6 separate regions of the Homo sapiens genome follow, and regions 1, 2, 4, 5 and 6 are each linked to region 3. The links are contacts of gene promoters, found by promoter capture Hi-C in blood cells and fetal thymus (Javierre and others, 2016). All regions are on one chromosome and are shown on one strand. The core of a region is centred on a gene start or on the middle of the fragment in contact, and the rest is flanking DNA. Distances in the headings are between cores, read along the strand shown.

The links. The method cuts DNA at HindIII sites, captures the fragments that hold promoters and counts their contacts. A CHiCAGO score of 5 or more calls a contact.
Region 1: a contact is called between the fragment with the promoter of OR7D2 here and the fragment with the promoter of ZNF699 in region 3, in 2 of 17 cell types (neutrophils and M0 macrophages). The highest score is 6.8, in neutrophils.
Region 2: a contact is called between a fragment that was not itself captured here and the fragment with the promoter of ZNF699 in region 3, in 4 of 17 cell types (activated CD4 T cells, non-activated CD4 T cells, naive CD8 T cells and 1 more). The highest score is 6.1, in activated CD4 T cells.
Region 4: a contact is called between a fragment that was not itself captured here and the fragment with the promoter of ZNF699 in region 3, in 1 of 17 cell types (activated CD4 T cells). The highest score is 5.7, in activated CD4 T cells.
Region 5: a contact is called between a fragment that was not itself captured here and the fragment with the promoter of ZNF699 in region 3, in 8 of 17 cell types (non-activated CD4 T cells, naive CD8 T cells, activated CD4 T cells and 5 more). The highest score is 6.5, in non-activated CD4 T cells.
Region 6: a contact is called between a fragment that was not itself captured here and the fragment with the promoter of ZNF699 in region 3, in 1 of 17 cell types (total CD8 T cells). The highest score is 5.1, in total CD8 T cells.

The regions. Positions count from the first base shown.
Region 1 is chr19:9,176,307-9,180,318 of GRCh38, forward strand. It overlaps OR7D2 (olfactory receptor family 7 subfamily D member 2), which reads left to right and starts at 2,673. Exons shown (of 3, transcript NM_175883.4): 1 at 2,673-2,817. The HindIII fragment of the contact is 28,883 bases long and covers 1-4,012 here.
Region 2 is chr19:9,445,108-9,449,754 of GRCh38, forward strand. The region is part of intron 1 of LOC105372269 (a long non-coding RNA gene); the gene reads left to right. It also overlaps a transcript of ZNF560 not described here. Among named protein-coding and RNA genes, the nearest start is that of ZNF266, 12 kb to the left of the region's middle. The HindIII fragment of the contact is 161 bases long and covers 2,318-2,478 here.
Region 3 is chr19:9,307,522-9,311,654 of GRCh38, forward strand. It overlaps ZNF699 (zinc finger protein 699), which reads right to left and starts at 2,317. Exons shown (of 6, transcript NM_198535.3): 1 at 1,829-2,317. RefSeq lists a silencer at 1,987-2,236 and an enhancer at 2,297-2,416. The HindIII fragment of the contact is 15,955 bases long and covers 1-4,133 here.
Region 4 is chr19:9,474,627-9,479,234 of GRCh38, forward strand. It overlaps ZNF560 (zinc finger protein 560), which reads right to left. Exons shown (of 10, transcript NM_152476.3): 3 at 658-743. The coding sequence starts at 687. Among named protein-coding and RNA genes, the nearest start is that of ZNF560, 22 kb to the right of the region's middle. The HindIII fragment of the contact is 3,969 bases long and covers 1-3,789 here.
Region 5 is chr19:9,520,104-9,524,670 of GRCh38, forward strand. ZNF426 (zinc finger protein 426) reads right to left here. Exons shown (of 8, transcript NM_024106.3): 8 at 3,120-4,567. It overlaps LOC105372268 (a long non-coding RNA gene), which reads right to left and starts at 737. Exons shown (of 3, transcript XR_001753862.2): 1 at 32-737. The HindIII fragment of the contact is 2,722 bases long and covers 1,158-3,879 here.
Region 6 is chr19:9,544,239-9,548,491 of GRCh38, forward strand. No RefSeq gene overlaps it. Among named protein-coding and RNA genes, the nearest start is that of ZNF426-DT, 7.7 kb to the left of the region's middle. The HindIII fragment of the contact is 3,193 bases long and covers 682-3,874 here.

The DNA.
Region 1 (4,012 bases), core at 1,423-3,922, 130 kb before region 3:
CTCAGGAGGCTGAGGTGGGAGAATCACTTGAACCCGAGAGGCAGAGGTTACAGTGAGCTGAGATTGCGCCGCTCACTCCAGCCTGGGTGACAGAGTGAGACTGCACCAAAACAAACAAATGAAAAAAAATGAAATAATGTGTTAATAATTTTATATTAAAAATTATATTTCAGAAAAAATATTTACCCCTTTTTTTTTTAGACGGGGTTCGCTTTTGTTACTCAGGCTGGAGTGCAATGGTGCAATCTCGGCTCACTGCAACCTCCACCTCTTGGGTTCAAGCAATTCTCTCGCCTTAGCTTCCCAAGTAGCTGGGATTACAGGCGCCCACAACCACGCACAGCTAATTTTTTTTTTTTTTTTTTTTTGTATTTTTAGCAGAGACAGGGTTTCACCATGTTGGCCAGGCTGGTCTCGAACTCCTGACCTCAGGTGATCCACCTACCTTGGCCTCCCAAAGTGCTGGGATTACAGGCATGAGCCACCGTACCCGGCCAAGCACATTTTGTTGTATATTTGAAGTACTCGAAATTTATTCCTGCAAACCACACAGATTTTTGTACATTTAATTTTAATTTTAAAAGATCTGTCAGTCATTGACAGATGAATGGATAAACAAAATGTGTGTATATACATATAATATAATGAAATATTTTGTGGCTTTAACAAAGAACATTCTCCTGAGCATGGTGCCTCATGCCTATAATCCCAACACTTTGGGAGGCTGAGGCGGGAGGATCACTCAAGGCCAGGAATATGAGACCAGCCCGGCCAACATGGTGAAACCCCATCTCTACTAAAAATACAAAAATTAGCCGGACATGGTGGCGCACACGTGTAATCCCAGCTACTCGGGAGGCTGAGGCAGGAGAATCGCTTGAACCTCGGAGGTGGAAGTTGCATTCCAGCCTGGGCGACAAGAGTGAGGCTTTGTCTCAAAATAATAATATAAAAATAATAATAATAATAAATAGAAAAACAACAAAAAATAAAAAACAAATTAGCTAATTGGGAGACTGATGTGGGAGGATTGCTTGATCTCAGGTCTTTGGGATTGTAATGAGCTATGATTGTGCCACTGCACTCCAGCCTAGGTGACAGAGTAAGACCCTGACAAAAAAGAAGAAAGAAAAAAAAAGAGAGAGGAGAGAGAGAGAGAAAGAACATTCGGACACATATACAGCATACATGAACCTTGGCAATATTTCACTTAAATGAAATAAGTCAGTCACAAAAAGACAAACAGTGTATACTTCCGTCTATGAAGTAGGTACCACAGTCAGAATTATAGAGACAGAAAGTGGTATGGTGGTTCATTAGGGGCTGGGGAGGGTGAATGAGGGATGAGTGTTACGGGACAGAGTTTCAGCTTGGGGAGATGAGAAGATTCTGAATATGGAGGATAGTGATGGCTGCTGTGAATATACTTAATGCCACTGAATAGTACACTTAAAATGGTTAAGATGGTGAACTGTATGTTATGTATATTTTACCATCATTTTAAAAATTGAAAAAAACTTTTTTCTTATTGTTCAGTTCCTCCCAAACTTGCCATCAATGAAATTTTCCCCATCACTCTACCCAGATCGCTGTTTCTAATGTTTTCCATGCCATTAAATGTGATGGATATTCTTCAGCCTTTATTTTGCTTAGCCTTATAGCATCGTTTTACATGGTTGTTAGAAATAAATCTTGGAGTCATAAAGAAAAATGAGCACTCAAACAAAGGATTTCTCAGCAAAGCAAATTTACTTCTGCGCAGAAGGGTGCTTCTCGTAGGGTTGGCTGCTACAAGAGCACCCTGAACAAAGGAGAGTAGCAACTTTTATTCTTAATGCGACTCTTGACTTTGTGTGTCCTTTCCCCATTGGCTGGGGTCGGACAGCACAATCTAAACTAGACTTGATTGGTTACACATTTAAACTGTCTTAGATAAGGTGGGTGTGTGATGGGAGACAGAGGAGAGGAGGAAGGGGTCTTCTACAGAGGAATAGACAGCTAGTCTATTCTTAAATAAGGAAAGAAATGTGAGCTGGGGCTATGGCATATCTGGGCATGCAGCAAAATCAGAAAGAAGAAAAGGAGAAGAAAGTGTGTGGGGGGGGTACTTGGAATTAGAGAATAAGAAGCTGAGCAGGCTGTTTGAAGAGAAATCTTGCTGTATCTCGCAATGGTTGACTCTCCCTCTCTTGAAACAGGACTTACGACATGTCCACAGCCTGTTTAACGCCCTGCAGCCAACGCGATCACAGGGGATTCACGGAAATAGTTGCATCTCTATTTTCTTCTGTGTTACCTTGAGACCCTTAGGCACTGGGATTACAGAGAGATGGGTCTTTGTAGCTTCTGCGACACATTCCAGAGGGGAAAACCTCTTTATCTCAAAGCCAAACCAATAGTGATGAAAGCTCTTCCAAGAATAAAGAGGCCCCAAGAGGGTGGGAGGTGCAGAGAGAGTCACCTGGCTTCAGAGCTGCCTTCTTGGAAACAGAATTAGAACACATCATACCTTTCTGCCATTTGCTCTTGATCCCAAGGGAGCCGAATGGGTTGGAGAGTAGAACATCACTGGAACAGTGGATTTAATGAGGAAGGATGAGACATCAGCTCCCTGGGGCTTGAGAAACCATAAATACTTCCCTAAAACACCTCACCTGGACAGTTTCCTGACGCCACACTCATGCATCTTAGAGAGGAGAGTTAGGATGACTTCATGACAAGTTCCATCTCCCCGCCTTTCCCTGCTAGATTCTGTCTTCAGCATTCAACAGTCAGGGGAGGAAGACGTCATACCAGCATTTTTTTTTTTCAAGCAATGTCAGTTGAGTGACTCACACTATCCTTGTTAGTACCGTGTGTGAAAAGGATTTAAAAAGTAGTGTGGGGAGGAACAGAGATGGAGGTAACAGGGTTGATAATGTCTCATGATTTTTAAAATGTCTCTAGGATTCCCTTACCTGGTTATAGATGTCTTAAGGCATTGCAACTTTTGGGAGGCTGAGGCAGGCGGATCGCTTGAGGCCAGGAGTCTAAGACAAGCCTGGCCAACTTGGTGAAACCCCATCTCATCTAAAAATACAAAAATTAGCTGGGCATGGTGGCGGATGCCTGTAATCCCAGCTACTCGGGAGCCTGAGTCAGGAGAATGGCTTGAACCCGGGAGACAGAGGTTGCCATGAGCCAAGATCACGCCACTGCACTCCAGCCTGGGTGACAGAGTGAGTGAGACGCTGTCTCAAAAAAAAAAAAAGATTCTATTGCAACTGTTTCTGTCACCTCCACCTCTGATGGCCTTTCATTCTGGAAACTAGTGACTTTCTCAATGTCAGTAGGAACTGGCACTTCCTTGAGTGGATTCCTTTCAGTCTACCTGCTAACACCTTCCTTTTTCTTCTCTAGTATAATATAATAGTTCTCGGCCGGGTGCAGTGGCTCATGCCTATAATCCCAGAACTTTAGGAGGCCGAGGCGGGTGGATCACAAGGTCAAGAGATCGAGACCATCCTGGCCAACATGGTGAAACCCTGTCTCTACTAAAAATACAAAATTAGCCGGGCATGGTGGTGTGTGCCTGTAGTCCCAGCCATTTGGGAGGCTGAGGCAGGGGAATTTCTTGAACCTGGGAGGCAGAGGTTGCAGTGAGCTGAGATTGCACCATTGCACTTCAGCCTGGGCAACAAGAACAAAACTCCGTCTAAAAAAAAAAAAATCAACAAAGCAAAGCAAAACAAAACAAGTATGTATTAAATGTTCACTCTGCACCAGATGTTACATATATTATCATTGCAATTGTGAATGGACTTTTTTTCCTCTTATTTTTTCTCATGGCTGTTTGCAGATACATAAGAAAGCTGATGACACTGATTAGTTGTAATTAATTGTGTTTAAGTTGACTTTTTTTTTTTTTGAGACAGGGTCTTTCTGGGCTCAAGCAAACCTCCTGCCTTGGCCTCCCAAGTAGCTAATTTTTTAAAAATCTATTTTTGTAGAGGCAAGTGTCTCATTTTGTTGT
Region 2 (4,647 bases), core at 1,148-3,647, 140 kb after region 3:
TCAAGATGTTCTACTTATCTTTAGCTTTCACAACTTTAATTATTATATGTTTTGGCTTATATTTCTTTGGGGTTATGTTTTGGGTTCATTAAATTTCTTGAATCTGAATATTTGTGTCTTTCATCAAATTTGAGAAGTTTTTCATCATTACCTTTTCAAAAACTTACTGCATCACACATCTTCTTCTTCTTTTAGGACTCTAATATCATGAATGTTAGCCTTTTGTACTGTTACACAGCCCTGTGAGGCTCTGCTGCTAGTATGCTGAATAGTTTGGGTTTATATTCAGGGCACTTTGAATATTATAACACTCTGGGCCTTTAAGTCCTATGGAGAACGTAGATTTTTTTTTTTTTTTTTTGGATGGAGTCTAGCTCTGTCGCCAGGCTGGAGTGCAGTGGTGTGATCGTGGCTCACTGCAACCTCCGCCTCCCGATTCAACCGATTCTCCTGCCTCAGCCTCCTTAGTAGCTGGGATTACAGGCATGTACTGCCACGCCCAGCTGATTTTTGTATTTTTAGTAGAGACGGGGTTTGACCATGTTGGCCAGGATGGTCTCGATCTCTTGACCTCGTGGTCCACTCGCCTCGGCCTCCCAAAGTGCAGGGATTAAAGGCATGAGCCACTGCACTCAGCTGATTTTTTTTTTTAATCTGGACAATTACCCAGTTGGGTTCAGCTTGCAAGTTTTAGTCAACGCTCTGAGTTGTGGTTTCAATGAGAGCTTTATTTTCAAAGATTTTGTTGTATGCTTTGTGTCTCTACCTGGAGGCTAGACTACACAGAAGGTCATCTATCTCACATTCCAGCTCTCAAAGTCTATGGTATGTCTCATTGCCACCACAGGATTGCTTGGAGGCTGGAACCAAGTAAATGGAGAAAACAAACTGAGGTATTAATCTCCCTCTCTTTCTCACTGAGCATTAGAAACCACCCCTCCCACCCCCTTGTTGATATTACCAGAACCAGAGGGCTTCTTCTGGAACTCTCCATGTTGGTCATGATGTGTGCCTCTGGTTTTTCAGCCACACTGAGTACAGACCAGATGAAACCAGAAGGGGTAAAACTAGTAAACTTACTGCCTGCTTGGTGGTACTTTGAACGCTGATTTTTTTTTCCATCTCCCTGCTGCTATTTACTTTTCAGATTCTTCAAATAGCTGATGCATTCTGTCCAGGTGGGACATTCAGTGGGACAGACAGGATAACTGCATTTACTCCACCTTTCCCTAAACCAGAACCAATTTTGCCAAGTCATACACACACACACACACACACACACACACACACACACACACACATAAAATATAGGATGCATTCTCTTGTTACTTCTGGTTTCTTTCACAACATCATGTTTGTGAGATTCATCCACGTTAGGGGGTTTACCTGTATAGTAGGCAGAATTCTGAGATGGTGCTTATGAGTCCTGCACTCTGGTATGCCTTGGTATAATCCCCTCCTGTTGAGTGTTGGTAGGATAAACAGTTTCCTCCTAATCAAGAAAATATAGCAAAAGTGATGCAATGTCAGTCAACTGTATTACATTATGTGGCAACAATGAAGGAATTTTCCAGATACAATTCAAGTCCCTATTCAGTCGATTACACATTACACAAAGCGAATAATCTCCTAGAATATTCCTAGGAGAACTTGATTTACTTATAGTATAGAGATATCTAGAGATATTCACCTGACAAAATTAGATGAGTCCCTTCAAAGGGGATTTGGATATCAGTGACTAAAAAATAGCAGACAGCTGGATGCCATGGCTCACACTTGCACTTTGGGAGGCCGAGGTGGGCAGATCACAAGGTCAGGAGTTCGAGACCAGCCTGGCCAATATGGTGAAACCCCATCTCTAGATAAAAATACAAAAATTAGCTGGGCATGGTGGCGCGTGCCTATAGTCCCAGCTACTCGAGAGGCTGAGGCAGGAGAATCGCTTGAACCTGGGAGGCGGAGGTTGCAGTGGGCCAAGATCACGCCACTGCATTCCAGCCAGGGCAACAGAGCGAGACTCCGTCACAAAAAAAAAAAAAAAAAAAATAGACATACTCTCTGTTGCTGGCATTGACAAAATAAGCTGTAAGGAATTCTACAGCCATAACAAAATTAATTCTACCAACAATCTGACACAGATTAGAAGCACATTCTTCTATATTTTAGCCCCAACCCTCTCCAGATGAGAAGGAAACTGTAAGAATTCTGCCACCATGAAAAAGCTGAATGTTGTGACACCACCAAAGGGTCACTCTCACTCTACAGCAATGGTCCCTTTCCAAAATGGAGGCACAGAGATGACAGGTGGAGAATTCAAAGCTTGGCCTACAGGGAAGCTCAGCTAGATCCAAGACAAGATTGAAAATCAACACAAACATAAAGCAATCAACAAAATAAGAAATAAACATCTTAAGAAGTAATTAATCAAAGCTACAGGAACTGAAAACCTCACTTAAGGAATTTTAAAATAAAATTGAAAGCTTCATCAACAGACTACACCAAGCAGAAGAATTTCAGAGCTTGAAGACTGGTCTTTCAACTAACCCAGTCAGACAAACACAAAGAAAAAAATGTAAGGAACAAAGTCCCCAAGAAATATGGGATGATGTAAAGTGATCAAATTTACAAATAACTGGCATTCCAGGGAGAGAAAGAGAAAAAGTAAGCAACCTGGAAACCATACTTGAGAGAATAATTTAAGAAAATTTCCCTAATTGTGCTAGAGAGGTAGCCATCCATATGTAAGAAATCCAGACAACACCTGCCAGATACTACATAAAATGAACACCACGAAGACATACAGTCACCAGCCTAAGGTCAACGCTAGAGAAAAAAGCTTAAAGGCAGCTAGAGGAAATGGCACATCAGGTACAAAGGGAATCTCGTCATCAGGCTAATAGCAGACTCCTCAGGAGAAACCCTACAAGCCAGAAAAGACTGGGGGCCTATTTTCATCATTCTTGAAGAGGAAACTCAAACCAAGAATTTCAAACCTGACCAAACTAAGCTTCATAAGAGTAGAATAAACATTTCTAGAGACAAGCAATCACTAAGGGATTTCATTACCAGTAGACCAGCCTTACAATAAATCCTTAATGGAGTTTTTGTGTGTGCGTGTGGCGGGGGGTTTGTTTGTTTGTTTTTCAGACATTTCACTCTTGTTGCCCAGGCTGGAGTGCAATGACACGATCTTGGCTCATGGTAACCTCTGCCTCCTGGGTTCAAGTGATTCTCCTGCCTCAGCCTCCGGAGTAGCTGGGATTACAGGCATGCACCACCATGCCTGGCTTTTTTTTTTTTTTTTTTTTAGTGGAGACAGGGTTTCTCCATGTTGGTCAGGCTGGTCTTGAACTCCTGACCTGAGGTGTCCACCCTCCTCAGCCTCCCAAAGTGCTGAGATTACAAGCATGAGCCACCTCACTTGGCCCCTTAACGGAGTTCTAAACATGAAGACGAAAGAATGATACCTGCTACCACAAAACAACCAAACCTAAGTACGCAGCCCACAGACCTTTTGAAGCAAAAACAAAATAGAAACTATAAAACAACCACCTAACAGCTTCATAATAGGATCAGATCCTCACATATCAATATTAGCCTTGAATGTAAATGGTCTTACCACCCCATTTAAAAGGGACAGAGTGGCAATCTGGATAAAAACGACAAGTACTATCCTTCTGAGACCTATCTCACACATATGAGACACCCATGGACTCAAAAAGTGGGAGAAAGAGCTATCATGCAAATGCAAAACAAAAAAGAGCACGGATCATTATTCTTTTGTTGGATAAAATAGACTTTAAACCAACAACAGGAAAAAAGGACAAAGAGCACTATATAATGATAAAGGGTTCAATCCAACAAGATGACTTAACCTTCAACATTGGAGCATTCGCATTCATAAAACAAGTACTTCTAGACCTACAAACAGACAGCCAAACAAGAATAGTGGCAGACTTCAACACCCCACTGGCAGTGTTAGATCACTGAGGCAGAAAACTAACAAATTCTGGACTTCAATTTGAAACTTCACCAATTGGACTTAATAGATATCCACAGAACATTCTACCCATCAACCACAAAATACATATTCTTCTCGTCTGCACACAGAACACTCAAAGACCACATTCTCAGCCATAAAGCAAGTCTCAATAAATTCATTCAAAATTTGAAAATCATACCAACCATACTCTCAGACCACAGTGAAATAGAAATAAAAATAAAGATCAATACCAAGATCTGTCAAAATCACACAATTACATGGAAATTGAACAACTTGCTTCTGAATGACTTTTGGGTAAACAGCTAAATTAAGGTGGAAATTTAAAAATTCTTTGAAATTAATGAAGGCAAAAAAACAAGATACCAAAATCTCTGGGATGCAGCTAAAGCAGGGTTAAGAGAAATGTTTAGAGTGCTAAAACACCTACAGCAAAAACTTAGAAAGTCAGCACCATATGAAGTGAAAAAAACAAAAAAGGAACATACCTCAAAATAATAGAGCCATCTATGACATAGCTGCAGCCAACATCATACTAAATGGGCAAAAGCTGGAAGCACCCCACTTAAGAACTGAAAAGGCTGGGCACAGTGGCTCATGCCTGTAATCCCAGCACTTTGGAAAGTCAAGGTGGGTGGATCACCTGA
Region 3 (4,133 bases), core at 1,067-3,566:
AGCAAGTCAGGACAGGTAATGTGGCAGGGTAGAAGCAGAAAATTAAAATAACTATTTCAGATCATGCTGGAATTTCAGAGGGTTTAGTATATCTATTATATATTTATAAGCATTATCAACTCCTAGAGGAAAAAAAATCAGTACTGGCCAGGCACGGTGGCTCACACCTGTAATCCCAGCACTTTGGGAGGCCAAGGTGGGTGGATCACAAGGTCAGGAGTTCAAGACCAGCCTGGCCAAGATGGTGAAACCCACCTCTACTAAAAATACAAAAAAATTAGCTGGGCATGGTGGCAGGTGCCTGTAATCGCCACTACTTGGGAGGCTGAGGCAGAGAATTGTTTGAACCCAGGAGGCAGAGGTTGCAGTGAGCCAAGATCACGCCACTGCACTCCAGCCTGGGAGACACAGCGAGACTCTGTCTCAAAAAAAAAAAAAAAAATCGGTATTAATAGGCTAGACTATTGATATATAAAGTTGAATAAAGACCAGCATAAAAGTTTAGAAAGAAAATAGAAAATAATCTTTTTTAAAACATAGTAAACAAAATCAGAAAAGCTAAAAAAGCATCCTTTGCAAAAAGAAAAACTAATGAAACTGACAAACTCAGCTTTTTAAAAAAATTTTTTAATTTAATTTATTGTTTAAGACAGACTCTTTATGTTCCCAGGTTGATCTCATTTCCTAGGCTCAAGCGATCCATCTGCCTTAGCTTCCCACCAGCTGGGACTACAGATATGCGCCACTGCAGCCAGCAACAGACTCAGCAATTTTAAGAGCAACAGGGCATAAACAACAACAACAAAAAAAAAATGAACAAGAATTAATCATAATTACAGATATCATAAGGAGAATATAGAAAAAATTTAAGGAATAAATATGAAGATGCACAGGTAATTAATGAATTTCTAGAAAGTAGTACAACTTTCAAGCAGTGATCTAAAACCTGATTACACCCAGTAATTAAAGAAAAAAAAATCAGCGGTTTAAAACACGGTCAGGCCGGGTGCAGTGGCTCATGCCTGTAATTCCAGCACTTTGGGAGGCGGAGAGCCCATGAGTTCGAGACCTGCCCGGGCAACAGAGCGAGACTCCTATTTTCTAAAAAGAAATAGGAATAAAGAAAGGAAAAAAACCTACAAACACCTACAGCAAACATCCTATTTAATGGTGAAATGATAGAATAATTCCCTCTGGAATCAGAAACAAGACAGGATGTAAATTACATGCTATTCTGTCGGACATTGTACTGGAGGTCCTGGCAAGTGCAGTAAAGAAATGAAAAGAAATGGAAACTGCAAGGAATAAAAAGGGAAAAGATTGAAACTGACAGATGACCAAATTTTCTGTGTGAAATTTAACCAATCTATAGACAAATGATTCAAATGCATCATTAATGACAAAATGCATCAGTTCACTTTCACTTGAATATAATGTATCAAACTGATGTCCACAGGCAGAATATAATATCCAGAGACCAAATACTATCTTTTTGTTTTTTTGAGACAGTGTCTCGCTCTGTTGCCCAGGCTGGAGTGCAGTGATGCGATCTCAGCTCACTGCAACCTCTGCCTCCCGAGTAGCTGGGAACACAGGAGAGCACCTTTTATTTTACTTTTTTTTTTTTTTTTTTTTTTGGTAGAGACGGGATCTTGCTATGTTGCCCAGGCTGGCCTCAAACTCCTGGGCTCAAGCGATCCGCCCGCCTCGGCCGCCCAAAGTGCTGGGATTACAGGCGTGAACCACCGCGCTTGGCCCAAACACTACCTAATGCATAAAGAGGGGACAGGAGGGGACCGAGCCGAGGCAAATGTCACCCCGTGCTCACCCGACACGCCGCGATCCACAGATCAGCTCACAGAGAACGAGGCTGAAGCGCTTGTCCTTGAGACACGAATGGCAGAGATGCTCTTCCTTTCTGGAAAGAGAGCAAAGGATGCTTTCGGAGGCTGATGAACTACGACATTGGTTCTCCAACTCTCGCCTGCATCAGAATCACCCCGATTTCTGTACCCAGACCAGAGTTCCCGATTCAGTGAGTTTGGGACCAGCCGCGGCCACAGGGGCAGCTGACCCGGGCTCTCTGAGGAGGCGCCGCGGCGGCGGGAGGCCCCGGGCGCGGGGTCCGGACAAGGAGTGGCGGGGAGGCAGCCCTTAGACCGCCGATTCCCAAACCCAGCCCTCGGTCTCCCGCGGACCCGACCCGGGGCAGGCAGGGCGGGGCGGGGCAGGGCAGGACAGGAAGCGGGCGGAGGCAAAAATGTTCCTCAGACGCGGGCGGAGGCGTAGGGTGACAAGGCTGTCGACTCGCGCATGCGCAGAAGCACACTTCTGATTCCTCTTTCGGCGCTGCAAATGGCGTATGGGGCGGGGCCTGGGAAGCGGGACTTGAGGTGAAGGGGGTGGAGCAGGTAGGAGCGGGATGCAAAGGAGCGCCAAGGCTGGTTCCAGCCGCAAGTGGATGAGAAATCCTAGTTTCTTCATGATTTGGAGTAAACAGAGAAGAAACAGAACCCTGAACTGGACTTGCATGACTCGGCCTGAGGGGCGGAACTGGGGCTAGACCTAGGGGCGTGGCCTTTTAAATACTCCAAGGGGCGGGGCTAAAGGTGGAACCAGATTGGGAGCGGGGCTTGGTAGAAATTCCTAGGGGGCGGAGACGAGGGCTGGGCGGGGCTTAAGTGACAAGGCCTAGGGATGGGGCTAAGGCTAGGGCTTCCCATCCAGGTTCTCAGCTACCACGGATACAGGATGCTCATCGATCGGGTTTCTACCTATCCTCCACGTTGCTACAGTCCTGTACACAGGACACATATATTTGCAGCTCTAATAGGAAACAGACTCTCCTTGACACTCACTCAGTCCTTTTGGGCCTTTTAGTTTTCCCTTTCATTGTTGTATTGATAACTTCTCCTGTAGAGGGAAGCCATTGATAATTATTTAAATAGAACCTTTTTCCTGGAAACTTGCTGAATTCTGATAGCTGTCAGTTTATTATTTGAACCATCAAATATAAATATTTTCTCTGCATATTTTCATTGTTTTAATGTGTATAACTCATTTCTTTATGTGAGGCAATGTCTCATTCTATCGCCTAGACTGGAGTGCAGTGGCGCGACCATGGCTCACTGCAGCCTTGACTTCCCCAGCTCAAGTGATGGTCCCATCTCAGCCCCCCAAGTAGCTGAGAATACAGTCGCGTACCACCCCACCCAGCTATTTTCTTTATTTTTTTGTAGAGATGGGATCGCACTATGTTGCTGAAGCTGGTCTCAAACTCCTGAGCTCAAGCTATCCTCTCACCTCAGCCTCCCAGAGTGCTAGGGGTACAGGTGTAAGCCACCACACCCAGAGTCATTTCTTTTTCTTATTGTTTGTTTAGGGCTTCCTCAACTATAAGTCGGAAAGAAATTAAGCATTCTTGTCTTGGTCGGTAATGATTACCAAAGTTCCTCAGTAAGCTGTTTACAACAGGTTGCACCTCTTATCAAGTTAATCTTTTTAAACCAGGTTTATAAAGATATTTTATCAATAATTTTTTATGAACACTATCAAATGTTTATGCAACAATTGAGTTGATAACATAATTTTGCTCCTCTTAGTTTATAATATGATATCCATATAAAATATTTAATTTTAGGCAAGGCGCAGTGGCTCATGCCTGTAATCCCAGCACTTTGGGAGGCCGAGGCCGGTGGATTACCTGAGGTCAGGTGTTCAAGACCAGCCTGGCTACCATGGTGAAACCCCATCTCTACTAAAAATACAAAAAATTAGCTGGGCATGGTGGCGGGTGCCTGTAATCCCAGCTACTCAGGAGGCTGAGGCAAGGAGAATCGCTTGAACCTGGGAGGCAGAGGTTGCAGTGAGCTGAGATCGCGCCATTGCACTCCAGCCTGGGCGACAATAGAAAGACTCCATCTCAAAAATATATATATTCAATTTTATATATCCCCAATGAATCTATACTTTTAGTAAAATGGTTTCTGAGTTTCCTAGTTTGCTTTTAAATGTCTCCCCAAACTCTAAAATATAAAAATACTTCCTAATTTACTTCCAAATTGTACTGCTTTTTAAAACGTATAATTCTTTACTGCTCAGGGAATGTATTTTGGTATAATATGAGGTAGAGA
Region 4 (4,608 bases), core at 555-3,054, 170 kb after region 3:
TGCATCATATACTTGATAAACAGCGATGAATGATTAGCCTTTTTTTTTGGGAAGCAGGGTCTTGCTCTGTCACGTAGGCTGGACTGCAGTGGTGTGATCATGGCTCACTGCAGCCTTGACTTACTGGGCTCAAGTGATCGTCCTGCCTCAGCCTCCTGAGTAGCTAGGACTACAGCCATGCACCACCATGCCTGGCATTTTTTTTTTTTTTTTTTTTTTTTGTGGAGACAATGTCTCAGTATGTTGCCCAGGCTGGTCTCAAATTCCTAAGATCAAGCGATAATGCCACTCACTTCTCAGCCTCCCAAAGTGCTGAGATTACAAGTGTGAGCCACTGCACCTGGCCAGGATTAGCCTTTGAGTAAAGGATGCTTTCATCTTCCTTTCCATCTGCCAGACCACTCAGCAAAATAAGAAATATATATCTGGCACCATAAGGGACAAAATTAATTAACAATTACTGAAATGCTGAAATGCTTTTCAAGGATTATCAGTATGAGAACCTCCACTCCCTGGGGAAATTCAACAAGTGACTCAGTGCTTGAGTGAGTCTTTATTTACTTAAAGAAGCTCTGGAGACACATCTGCCTAGAAGGAAATGTGTTTACCTGGTGATGCAAGTATGTCATTTTGTGGAAGTATACATTTTCTGCATACCTGATAACAATTTGTCAGGCAGTAAGCCATCTTCCTTTCTGCCTCTGTCTTTTCTTCATGAAGGCAGATTGGGTTCCTAGAAAGACCTGGAAAAGAAAGAAGGCATAAGAGCCCAGACATAATCACAGTTCCAACATTCGCATGCATGGAAGTTATTCCAACCTGGTTCGAAATTCTCTTATAATTCATATAAACTCACATAAATATACATTACATCCATAAAATGCCACTGCACTTCTGTCTAACCTAGAGCAAGAAAAAGGAATTGTGGGCCAAGCTGTCGTAAGTAAAAGTATAATATCCTCATTGCACAGGTAAAGAAACTTTTTTTTTTTTTTTTGGAGATGGAGTTTCACTCTGTTGCCCAGGCTGGAGTGCAGTGGCACGATCTCGGCTCACTGCAAGCTCTGCCTCCTGGGTTCACGCCATTCTCCTGCCTCAGCCTCCTAAGTAGCTGGGACTACAGGCACCTGCCACCACGCCCGGCTAATTTTTTGTAGTTTTAGTAGAGATGGGGTTTCACCGTGTTACCCAGGATGTTCTCCATCTCCTGACCTCATGATCCGCCCAACTTGGCCTCCCAAAGTGCTGGGATTACAGGCATGAGCCACTGCACCTAGCCAGGTAAAGAAACTTAAGACCTGAGGAATGTAAGTCTTTTTGTGCCCATGGTGATATAACTCACAAATGAGATTATGCAGCACCTCTTCTCAAAGAACACACTTAAGGGGGCTAACTTACACAACAGGCCTCTCTGGCACACTTCAACAACTCAGAAAGGAACTACTAGTGTGAATACTAAGGCCTAGAGCCCTGGACTATATATTCTGCATGGGGTACTGATATGGTGTGGCTCTGTGTCCCCACCCAAATCTCATCTTGAATTGTGATAATCCCCACATGTCAAGGGCAGAACCAGATGGAGGTGATTGGATCATGGGGGCAGCTTCCCCCATGCTGTTTTCGTGATAATGAGTGAGTCTCACAAGATCTGATGGTGGGTTTTTTTTTGTTTGTTTTTGTTTTTGAAACAGAGTCTTGCTCTGTCACCCAGGCTGGAGTGCAATGGCGAGATCTTGGCTCACTGCAACCTCTGCCTCCCGGGTTCAAGCAATTCTCTTGCCTCAGCCTCCTGAGTAGCTGGGATTACAGGCACGTGCCACCAGACCTGGCTAACTTTTGTATTTTTAGTAGAGACAGGGTTCCACCAGTTGGTCAGGCTGGTCTCGAACTCCTGACCTTGTGATCCACCTGCCTTGGCCTCCCAAAGTGCTGGGATTACAGATGTGAGCCACCGCGCCCGGCCAATCTGATGGTTTTATAAGTATGTGGCATTTCCCCGGCTTGCACCCAATCTCTCTCCTGCCACCCTGTGAAGAGGTGTCTTCTGCCATTGATGCCACCCTGTGAAGAGGTGCCTTCTGCCATTGATGTTAAGTTTCCTGAGGCCTCCCCAGTCATGTGGAACTGTGAGTTAATTAAACCTCTTTTCTTTATAATTATCCAGTCTTATGTATTTTTTCATAGCAGTGAGAACAGACTAATATGGTTACCTAAAGCAGATTTTTGGAAAAACTTACCATAGGGCAAATCCTGTGAGGCTGACAGTGAAATATGTCTGGACACAGTTTTTTGTGATTCCAAGGACATATCAGGGTAGCTTATAAATCTAAGTGGATAACTGGCAATCTATTCCTCTTTATATAGAGTATCTGGACTCATGTAGACATCAATCATTAATCAACAAGCGTTACTTATCAGTCATCAAATACCATATATTAAATCTTTACTGCTGGTGATATGTGTAAAACCCACTAGAAATAGTATATGTTCTGTATAAAATGAGTATTAATAACACCAACTGCCATTTACTAGGGACTGTTATATGTTAGACATTACATATATATACACATACATATGTGCATATACATATATACATATATATATGCTCACTTATCTGAACAATATCCCTATTTAGTGCTGAAAAAAATCTAAATTCAGAAAACACAAATGACTCTTCTAATATCATCTACTTAGGAAGCGGTGAACCAGGACTTGAATGCAGTCAAGTTTGTCCCTAAGTCTAATCCTCTGTGGTTGTTATTACTCCCCCATAATGACTGCCATATAAAGGACTCTGGGAATTGATACCTGGCTTACTTAAAATGTGCTATTCTACTTTTGACTATAAAGAATTAGAACAAGAATGTCATCCTTTACAAACAAGTCAGAACTCATTTCCAACTCTGGTTGCTTCAACAGGGTTCCAAGTAGAACACTGAAGTTAGCGTTCAGAGTTCTGCCCATTGCTCCTGCAAGAGGACAAAAAACATGCAGAGCAGCAATCGCAAATCAGACTCTGCCCCTTATATTGACTATTTGATGGGTCTTCTCAGAAAATCACCTTTTATTATTATTCATGAGTTCTCTTTTTCCTAAAATTTCTGCTTGTATTTTTATCCCTTCCTTCCTTTATGGTTCTTACAAATCAAATGAAAAACGCAATTGAGATCATCAACAGTAGAGAAGGAAAAGAAAAAAATCTTTGAACTTGAAAACAGACTACTTAGAAATACACAAAGGAGAAAAAACAAAAATGAAGAAAAATTACAAGATTCAAGGGACATCATCAAAAGAGCAAATTTTTGAGTTACAGGAGTACAAGAAGACAAGAAAGAAAGAGAACACATACTTAAAGAAACAATAACAACATTTCCACACTGAGGAAAATATATAAATATCCATACTCAGGAAGGGCAAACATCTCCAATCACATTCAATCCAAACAAGGCTACCCTAAGATATAATATAATCAAACAGTCAAAAATGAAAAGCAAAGTGAAGATCTTGGAAGCAGCATGAAAAAAGATGCAAATCACATATGAACGAGTTCCAATAAGGTTATGAGCAGACCTGTCACCAAAGACCTTACAGGCCAGGAGAGAATGGGATGACATATATAAACTGCTGTCAGGAAAAACAAACAAACAAAAAAACTGCTCACAAAGAATACCATACCCAGCAAAGCTGTCCTTCAGGAATGAAAAAGAGATGAAGATTTTCAAAGAAAAACAAAAGCAGAGGTAGTTCATCGACACCAGACCTAATAAGAAATGCTAAAGGGAGTTCTCAAGCTTAAAAAAAGGACACTAATTAGTAACAAGAAAACAAAGCACAAAACTCAGGTAAAAATAAGCACGTAGCTAATTCAGAATACTCAAACACTGTAATGGTGGTTTATAAATGAATTATATCCTTACGATGAAGGTTAAGAGATAAAAGTATTAGGAACAGTAAGAGCTAAAATAATTAAGGGATATACAATATAAAAATATGTAAATTACAATATCAGAAAAATAAAATGAGGAGAGGTTGAGTTAAAGTATAGTTATTTTATGTGATCACAGTTATCGGCTTAAAATATCCTGCTATAAGATGTTTCATATAAGTCTTATGGTAACCACAAAGCAAAAATGTATAGCCAACACACAAAAGATAAAAAGTAAAGAATCAAAAGTACACTAGAGAAAATTATTAATCACAAAAATAGACAAAGGAAGAAACAAAGAATATAAAAAAAAACCCCACAAAACTTAACGAGCCAGGTGCAGTGCCTCATGCCACTAATCCCTGCACTTTGGGAGGTGGAGGCAGGTGGATCACTTGAGGCCAGAAGTTCAAGACTAGCCATGGCCAACATGGCGAAACCTTGCCTCTACTAAAAATACAAAAATTAGCCAGGCATGGTGACGGGCACCTGTAATCCCAGCTATTCAGGAGGCTGAGGCAGGAGAATCACTTGAATGGGCAGGAGAATCGCTTGAACCCAGCAGATGAAGATTGCAGTGAGCCAAGATCATGCCACTATACTCCAGCCTGGGATTTTTTTTTTCCAAAATGGAAAAAAAAAAAGAAAGAAAACTATTAACAAAATGGCAGTAGTAAGTACCT
Region 5 (4,567 bases), core at 1,269-3,768, 210 kb after region 3:
GGGTGGAGGAATGGAGGCAGCCAGGGCTTACCTGTACACTGACTTGACAGCAGTTGAATGAAAGTGCACACCTTAAAAAAAAAAAAAGGAAAGAAAAGAAATTCCATGTAGACCCATGGTATGACCAATTATCAATGACACTAGAGAGGACTATCTAAAAGCATCTATTAATAATCCCTCATGACAGCCAGGTGAGGTGGCAGAGGTTGCAGTGAGCAGAGGTTGCACCCCTGGACTCCAGCCTGAGTGACAGAGGGAGACTCCATCTCAAAGCAAAACCAAAAAATCCCCAAGTTTTGCAGAATCTGGATTTTATGGAAAAAAAAAGAAAAAACAAAAACAAAAAAACTTATCTTGGCAGTTAAACACACGCTCACTGTTAAATGAACATATAATGCAAATGAGAAAGTGTTTACAACTGCAGTCATGAAGAAAGTGCTAATTTATAAAATGTGCATAACAGAACAAGTAATATATTCAGAAACTCTTTCAAAAACAAATTTAATCACATAAAACCACCACAGAAAACTAAGGGGCCACACGTCTTATCTGAGAATAGGACAAACAGAAAGACAATTTCATCTTCATGTCATTTATTTGAATGTATCCCCAAAATGAATTATCTTATTTGCAACAAGAGTGATACAGAAAGGCTTCCAGAGCTGGGCAGGGTGGGTCATGCCTGTAATCCCAGCACTTTGGGAGGCTGAGGTGGGTGGATCACCTGAGGTTGGGAGTTCGAGACCAGCCTGACCAACATGGAGAAACCCCGCCTCTACTAAAAATACAAAAAAATTAGCCGGGCGTGGTGGCGCATGCCTGTAATCCTACTCAGGAGGCTGAGGCAGGAGAATCGCTTGAACCTGGGAGGTGGAGGTTGCGGTGAGCCAAGATCCCACCATTGCACTCCAAGGCTGGATGCCTGGAGAAACCCAGTGGACACATTCAGCTTTCAGCTTATTCCAATCATGACTGAAGAGGCCCAGCCAGAAAATAAGGGTCCCCTTGAGCCAGCAGCTTAGCTTCAGGTGGAGAAATGCATGATAAAATTATGATAAAGTTTTTCCAAAAGATGTAGCTGCCAATAGGTAAAGCCACAAGGCTGCTAATGTCAGGCTGCTGCACTCATTCCGTTTCCATTTCTATGTGACCAGCGAAGCTTACTGGGACATTCCCTTGCTGGTCACTGAATTCTTTGGAGATGTCAAGCATTCAGTTTCAGAAAGAGATTAGTACTACGTCCCTATCTGATCTTTTTTTTTTTTTTAAGAGGCAGAGTCTTGCTATGTTGCCCCAGGCTGGTTGTGAACTCCTGGGTTCAGGTGATCCTCCTGTCTTGGCCTCCCAAAGTGCGGAGATTACAGGCATGAGCCACTAGGCCCAGCCCCTACCTCACCTTCTTCTTTTTTTTTTTTTTTTTTTTTGAGATGGAGCTTCGCTCGTCGCCCAGGCTGGAGTGCAGTGGCGCAATCTTGGCTCACTGCAACCTCCACCTCCTGGGTTTAAACAACTTTCCTGCCTCAGTGTCCTGAGTAGCTGGGATTACACATCCCCACCATCATGCCTGGCTAATTTTTCTATTTTTAGTAGAGATGGGGTTTTGCCATGTTGGCCAGGCTGGTCTTCAATTCCTGTCTTGGCCTCCCAAGTAGCTGGGATTACTGGCATGCACCACAACACCTGGCTAATTTTGTATTTTTAGTAGAGATGGGGTTTCACCATATTGACCAGGCTGGACTTGAGCTCCTGACCTCCAGTGATCCACCCGCCTTGGCCTCCCAAAGTGCTGGGATTAGAGGTGTGAGCCACCATGCCAGGCCCCCTACCTGACCTTTTAAAGAAGGGACATGCTTGGTGGCTCCGTCAGGCAGATATTATGGCGTGTGAAATATCTAAGGGTTGTATCCCACTTTTCCCCTTCCCATGGCTTCACAGCAATTTACAATGCACAAAAGAAGCCTTATGAATGAACAAAGGTGATTCCACTTGATTTACAAGCAGGTTTCTCTCCACTGAGTTTCTACACCTTCTATAAGGTATGAAGTTTTTAAAAGCCCTGCCACGTTCCTTTTGTTTCTCTTATTTTTCAGTCAACTTTTTCTTGAGACAGGGTCTCATTCTGTTACCCAGGCTGGAGTGCACTGGCACAATCTCGGCTCACTGCAACCTCCACCTCTTGGGCTCAAGTGATCTTCCCACCTCAGCCTCCTCAGTAGCTGGGACTACAGACGCACACTACCATGACCAGCTAATTTTTGTACTTTTGTAGAGATGAGGTTTCACCATGTTGCCCAGGCTGGTCTCGAACTCCTGGGCTCAAGTGATCTGCCCGCTTCAGCCTTCCAGAGTGCTGGGATTACAGGTGTGAGCCACTATGCCCGGCCCACATTCCTTATGATGGGGCTTCAATCCACTCTAAGCTCTTCCATTTTGTGCAAGATCACGTTCTTTGATTTCATACTACAAGAAACCTCTTCTTTGTATTCTTTTTTCTCATGTGAGTTTTATAAGTTCTTTCACCAGATGAGTTCGGATGCTCTAAGGGATAATAAAATGGTTTTTCACATGCCTTAGATTCACTGAAATGGTCTCCTGTGTGATTTCTTACATTTAGCAGACCAAAGATTGAAAAGAGGCCAGGTGTGGTGGCTCATGCCTGTAATCCCAGCACTTTGGGAAGCCAAGGTGGGCAGATCACTTCAGACCATGAGTTCGAGACCACCCTGACCAACATGATGAAACCCCAGCTCTACTAAAAATACAAAAATTAGCTGAGCATGGTGGTACGTGCCTGTAATCCTAGCTACTCCAGAGGCTGAGAGAGGAGAAATGCTTGAACCCAGGAGGCAGAGGTTGCAGTGAGCCAAGATCATGCCATTGTACTCAAGCCTGGGCAACAGAGGGAGACTGTGTCTCACACACACACACACACACACACACACACACACACACACACTACACAGACAGAAAACATTTCATTCCTTACATTCATAAGGTTTCTTTCCATTGTAACTCTGAACATGAATATTAAAGACTATGGAATATCTAAAGGTTTTCTCACATTCTTTACTGTATTATTTTGATAGAGTTGACCAAAAAAAGGAACCCCACACATTGAATGGCTTAAACAACAGAAATTTATTTGCTCATAATTTTTGAGGCTGGAAGTCCAGGATCAAAGTGTAGATAAGGATGATTTCCTCTATAATGAGCCTTAAAAGAAGGATCTCCTCCAGGAATCTCTCTTTGCCTTGAAGGTAACCATTTCCGGTCACTTCACATAAAATTCTGTGCCTGCTACCCTGGTATCTCTTTCACTTCTTATAAGGAAACCAGTCATATTGAATGAGGGCCCCATTCTAACTGCCTCATTTTAAAATCACCTCTTTAAAAAACCACATCTCTAAATACCACCATTATCTTGAGGTCCCAGGGATGAAAGCCTTAATGTTAATGAGTGGATGGGACATGTGACATAATCTAAATCAGTGGTCCCCTAACTTTTTGGCACCAGGGACCAGTTTCGTGGAAGACATTTTTCCCACGGACTGGAGTTGGGGATTAAACTGTTCCAGTTCAGATCATCAGGCATTAGATTCTCATAAGGAGTGTGCAACCTAGATCCCTTGCATGTGCAGTTCACAATAAAGTTCATGCTCCTATGAGAATCTAATGCCACTGCTGATCTGACAGAAAGTTGAGCTCAGGCAGTAATGTTTGCTCATCCTACATTCACCTCCTGCTGTGCACCCTGGATCCTAGCAGGCCACAGACCAGTACCAGTCCATGGCCCAGGGGTTTGGGGATCCCTGACCTAGGCCATTCCACTTATTATAGTCATCAAGTTATTCTCCAGCATACATTGCATATGAATATTAAAGCTTGTGGAACATAAAAGGGTTTTCCCACAATCCTTGAATTCATAGTTTCTCTCCAGTTTGTGTTCTAAAATGTTTATCAAGGACTAAGTGGCAGGCAAGGGCTTTCCCACATTCCTTACATCAATATGGCTTCTCTCCACTGGGAATCCTGACATACACTTTAAGGCTTGAGAAATAAGTGAAGATTTTCCCACATTCCGTATAAACATAGGTTTTCTCCTAGTGGGAGTTTTGTGGTATCAGTCCTATGGATTAAATGAAGCCTTTCCCATATTTTCCATTTACATAGGGTTTCCTGCCACTGTGAATTCTTACAAGTTCATTATGACCTGAGATAATAAAGAAGTGGTTCCAGATTCCCAACTCTCACAGCATTTTTCTACAATGTGACTGTTCACATCTTTCATGTAAATGGGAACAACAGAGAGCTTTACCACAATTCTAACATTGATAAGATTTCTCTCCAGTGTGAGTTCTTTAATGACATGGAAAGGGACTGTAAGAATTGAAGAACTGGCTGGGCGTGATGGCTCATGCCTGTAATCTCAGCACTTTGGGAGGTCAAACCAGGCAGATCACTGGAGGTCAGGAGTTCGAGACCAGCCTGATCAACATGGAGAATCCCTGCCTTCACTAAAAATACAAAATTAGCTGGGCATGGTGGTACATGCCTGTAATCCCAGCTA
Region 6 (4,253 bases), core at 1,028-3,527, 240 kb after region 3:
GCTTGCCCTCATGTCTCCATGTGGTGGCTGCCACCACTTTAATACTTTTAGAGGCCCTCAAAACCACAAGCTATGCTCCATTTACTCTCTACAGTTCCCATAACTTTCAATATCTATTTTGTTCCTCACACTTGACACATATACTTTCTGCCCCCTGGCTCCTTCAACTGTACTCACCATTCGTTGAATTTCCCACAATTACCATTGTTCCTGGCCCAGACTTCAATCCGGCCTCTCATCTTATTCCTGATACTACATCTGAACCCCATGATTGTATCTCTCTAATCCATATGACATTCTCCCCATTTCCCCATATTTCCCTGTTTCCTGTTCCCCACCCAGACCACACTTGGTTTATTGATGGTAGTTCTTCCAGGCCCAATCACCAATCACTGGCAAAGGCAGGCTATGCTATAGTGTCTTCCACATCTATCATTGAGGCTATGGCCCTTCCCCCTTCCACTGCCTCTCAACAAGCTGAACTCATTGCCTTAACTCGAGCCTTCACTCTTGCAAAGGGAATACGTGTCAATATCTATACTGATTCCAAGTATGCCTTCCACATCCTTCACCACCATCCTGTTATATGGGCAGAAAGAGGTTTCCTTACTACACAAGGGTCTTCCATCATTAATGCCTCCTCAATAAAAACTCTTCTTAAAGCTGCTGTACTTCCAAGGAAGCTTGTTTCATTCACTGCAAGGGCCATCAAAGGACATCAGATCCCATTGCTCAAGGCAACAATTATGCTGATAAGGGAGTTAAAGAAGCAGCTAGCCTTCCAACTTCTGTCCCTCATGGCCAGTTTTTCTCCTTCTCATCAGTCACTCCCACCTACTCTCCCACTGAAACTTCCACCTATCAATCTCTTCCCAAACAAGACAAATGGTTCTTGGATCAAGGAAAATTCCTCCTTCCACCCTCACAGCCTCATTTCATTCTATCTTCCTTTCGTGACCTCTTCCATGTGGGTTACAAGCCACTAGCCCACCTCTTAGACCCTCTCATTTCCTTTCCATCATGGAAATCTATCCTCAAGGAAATCACTTCTCAGTGTTCCATTTGCTATTCTACCACTCCTCAGGGATTTCTCAGGCCCCCTCCCTTTCCTACACATCAAGCTCAGGGGTTCACCCATGCCCAGGACTGGCAAATTGACTTTATCCACATGCCCTGAGTCAGGAAACTAAAATATTCTTGGTCTGGTAGCCACTTTCACTGGATGGGTAGAGGCCTTTCTCTCAGGCCTGAGAAGGCCAACGTGGTCATCTCCTCCCTTCTGTCAGACATAATTTCTCGATTTAGACTTACTACCTCTATACAGTCTGACAACAGACTGGCCTTCATTAGTCAAGTCACTCAAGCAGTCTCTCAGGCCTTGGGCATTCAATGGAAACTTCATGCCCCCTACCGCCCTCAGTCTTCTGGAAAGGTAGAAAGGAATAATGGTCTTTTAAAAACACACCTCACCAAACTCAGCCTTCAACTTAAAAAGGACTGGACAGTATTTTTACCACCTGCCCTCCTCAAAATTTGAGCCTGTCCTCGGGATGCTACAGGGTACAGTCCATTTGAACTTTTATATGGACATACCTTCTTGCTGGGCCCCAACCTCATTCCAGACACCAGCCCTCTGGGGGACTACCTTCCAGTCCTCCAGCAGGCTAGACAGGAAATTTACCAGGCTGCTAATCTTCTTTTGCCTACTCCAGATTCCCAGCCATATGAGGACACCCTAGCTGGACGATCAGTTCTTAAGAATCTGACCCCTCAAACTCTACAAACTCGGTGGACTGGACCCCACTTAGTCATCTATAGTACTCCAATGGCCATCCATCTGCAGGACCCTGCCCATTGGGTTCACCATTCCAGGATAAAGCTGTGCCCATCGGACAGACAGCCTGATCTCTCCTCTTCCTCCTGGAAGTTGCAAGTACTCACCCCTACTTCCCTTAAACTCACCCGCATTTCTGAAGAACAGTAGTGACACTTGTGAGCCTAATACACCCTTTCATTTTGTTAGGTCTATTCTTCCTTACCCTGATCTTTACAACAGGGCTTCACACAGTCACCCCCACTACTTGGACTGTACCCCAAAACTTTTCATCCCTGCTATCTTCTGTCTAGTCATACTCCTACTCTTCATTCTCACCTACCCATAAATGTCCTGCCCTTGTCTACACTGCCAGTTTACACTTTTTCTCCAAACCATCATAGCTGATATCTCCTGGTCTTAGCCCCTAACCACCACTCTTAACTCCCCCTTGGAGTGGATAGATGACCTTTGCTGGCAAGGCACACTCCAATTCTTTCACCCTGATGAAGTCCTTTTCTTTACTTTTCCTCATTCCCATTCTCCTGCCATCCTCTACCCCTCCCTAATTACCTCCAACATACTATCAATCTCGCTCACTCCCTCCTCACTCTTTCTAATCCCTCCTTAGTGAACAATTGCTGGCTTTGCATTTCCCTTTTTTCCTGCTCTTACACAGCTGTCCCCACCTTACATACCGACTGGGCAACATCTCCTGTCTCCCTACATCTCTGAACCTCCTTTAACAGCCCTCATCTTTACCCTTCTGAAGAACTTCTTTACTTTCTAGACAGGTCTAGCAAAACCTCAGACATTTCATATCAGCAAGCTGATGCTCTTCTCCGCATCTACTTAAAAAATCTTTATCCTTGATTGAAACCATCCTGGCTAACACGGTGAAACTCGTCTCTACTAAAAATACAAAAAATTAGCTGGGCATGGTTGCAGGCACCTGTAGTCCCAGGTACTCAGGAGGCTGAGGCAGGAGAATCACGTGAACCCAGGAGGCAGAGCTTGCAGTGAGCCGAGATCGTGCCACTGCACTCCAGCCTGGGTGACAGAGCAAGACTCTGTCTCAAAAAAAAAAAAAAACCTTTATCCTTATATTAATTCTACTCCACCCATATTTGAACCCCTCACAACATAAACTACTATCCCTGTTGTCACTCCTTTGTGCATCTCTCGGCAAAGACTGACTGGAATTCCCCTAGGTAACATTTCACCTTCTCTATGCTTCTTCACTCTTCATCTCCAAAGCCCAACTACACATATTACCAAAACCAATGGGGCTTTTTAGCTCCACATTATAGATAAGCCCTCTATCAATACTGGCAAACTTAAAAACATTAGCAGTTACTATTATTTAGGAAGACATTTGTCCTGCACTTCACTCCATCCTTGGCTACCTTCCCCTTGTTCTTCAGCCTCTCCTCCCAGCCCCCCTTCTTGTTTACTTATACACAACCCCATGAATAGCAATGAAAGGTTGCTTGTAGACACTATGAGTTTTCTAATACACCATGAATACTGAACCTCTCCCTCTACCCAGTTGCCCTATCAATCCCCATTACAACTTCTAACGGCTGCTGCCCTTGCTGTGAGAGGTGACAACATGCTGGCGGCCCTCACTCACTCTCAGCACCTCCTCAGCCTTGGTGTCCACCTGGCCACACTTGAGGAGAACTTCCACCCACCACTGCACTGTGGGAGCCCCTCTCTGGGCTGGCCAAGGCTGGAGCCGGCTCCCTCTGCTTGCAGGGAGGTGAGGAGGGAGAGGCATGGGTGGGAACCGGGGCTGTGCTCGGCGCTCACGGGCCAGCGCAAGTTCCAGGTGGGCCCTGCACTTGGAGCAGTCGGCTGGCACCACCAGCCCTGGGCAGTGAGGGGCTTAGCACCTGGGCCAGCAGCTGCGGAGAGTGCGCCGTGTCCCCCAGCACTGCCAGCCCACCCATGCCATGCTCGAATTCTTGCCATGCCTCAGCCGCCTCCCCACAGGGCAGGGCTCAGGACCTGCAGCCCACCAGGCCTGAGCCCCCCTGTGGTGGGCTCCCACATGGCCCAAGCTTCCCCAACGGGCGCCACCCCCTGCTCCATGGTGCCCAGTCCCATTGACTGCCCAAGGGCTGTGGAGTGCAGGCATGGCATGGGACTGGCAGGCAGCTCCGCCTGCAGCAGGATCCACTAGGCAAACCAGCTGGGCTCCTGTGTCGGGTGGGGACTTGGAGAACTTTTATGTCTAGCTAGAAGACCGTAAATGCACCAATCAGCACTCTGTGTCTAGCTTAAGGTTTGTAAACGCACCAATCAGTGCTCTGTGTCTAGCTAATCTGGTGGGGCTTGGAGAACCTTTATGTCTAGCTAAAGGATTGTAAATACACCAACCAGCACTCTGTGTCTAGCTCAAGGTTTGTAAATGCACCAGTCAACACCCTGTGTCTAG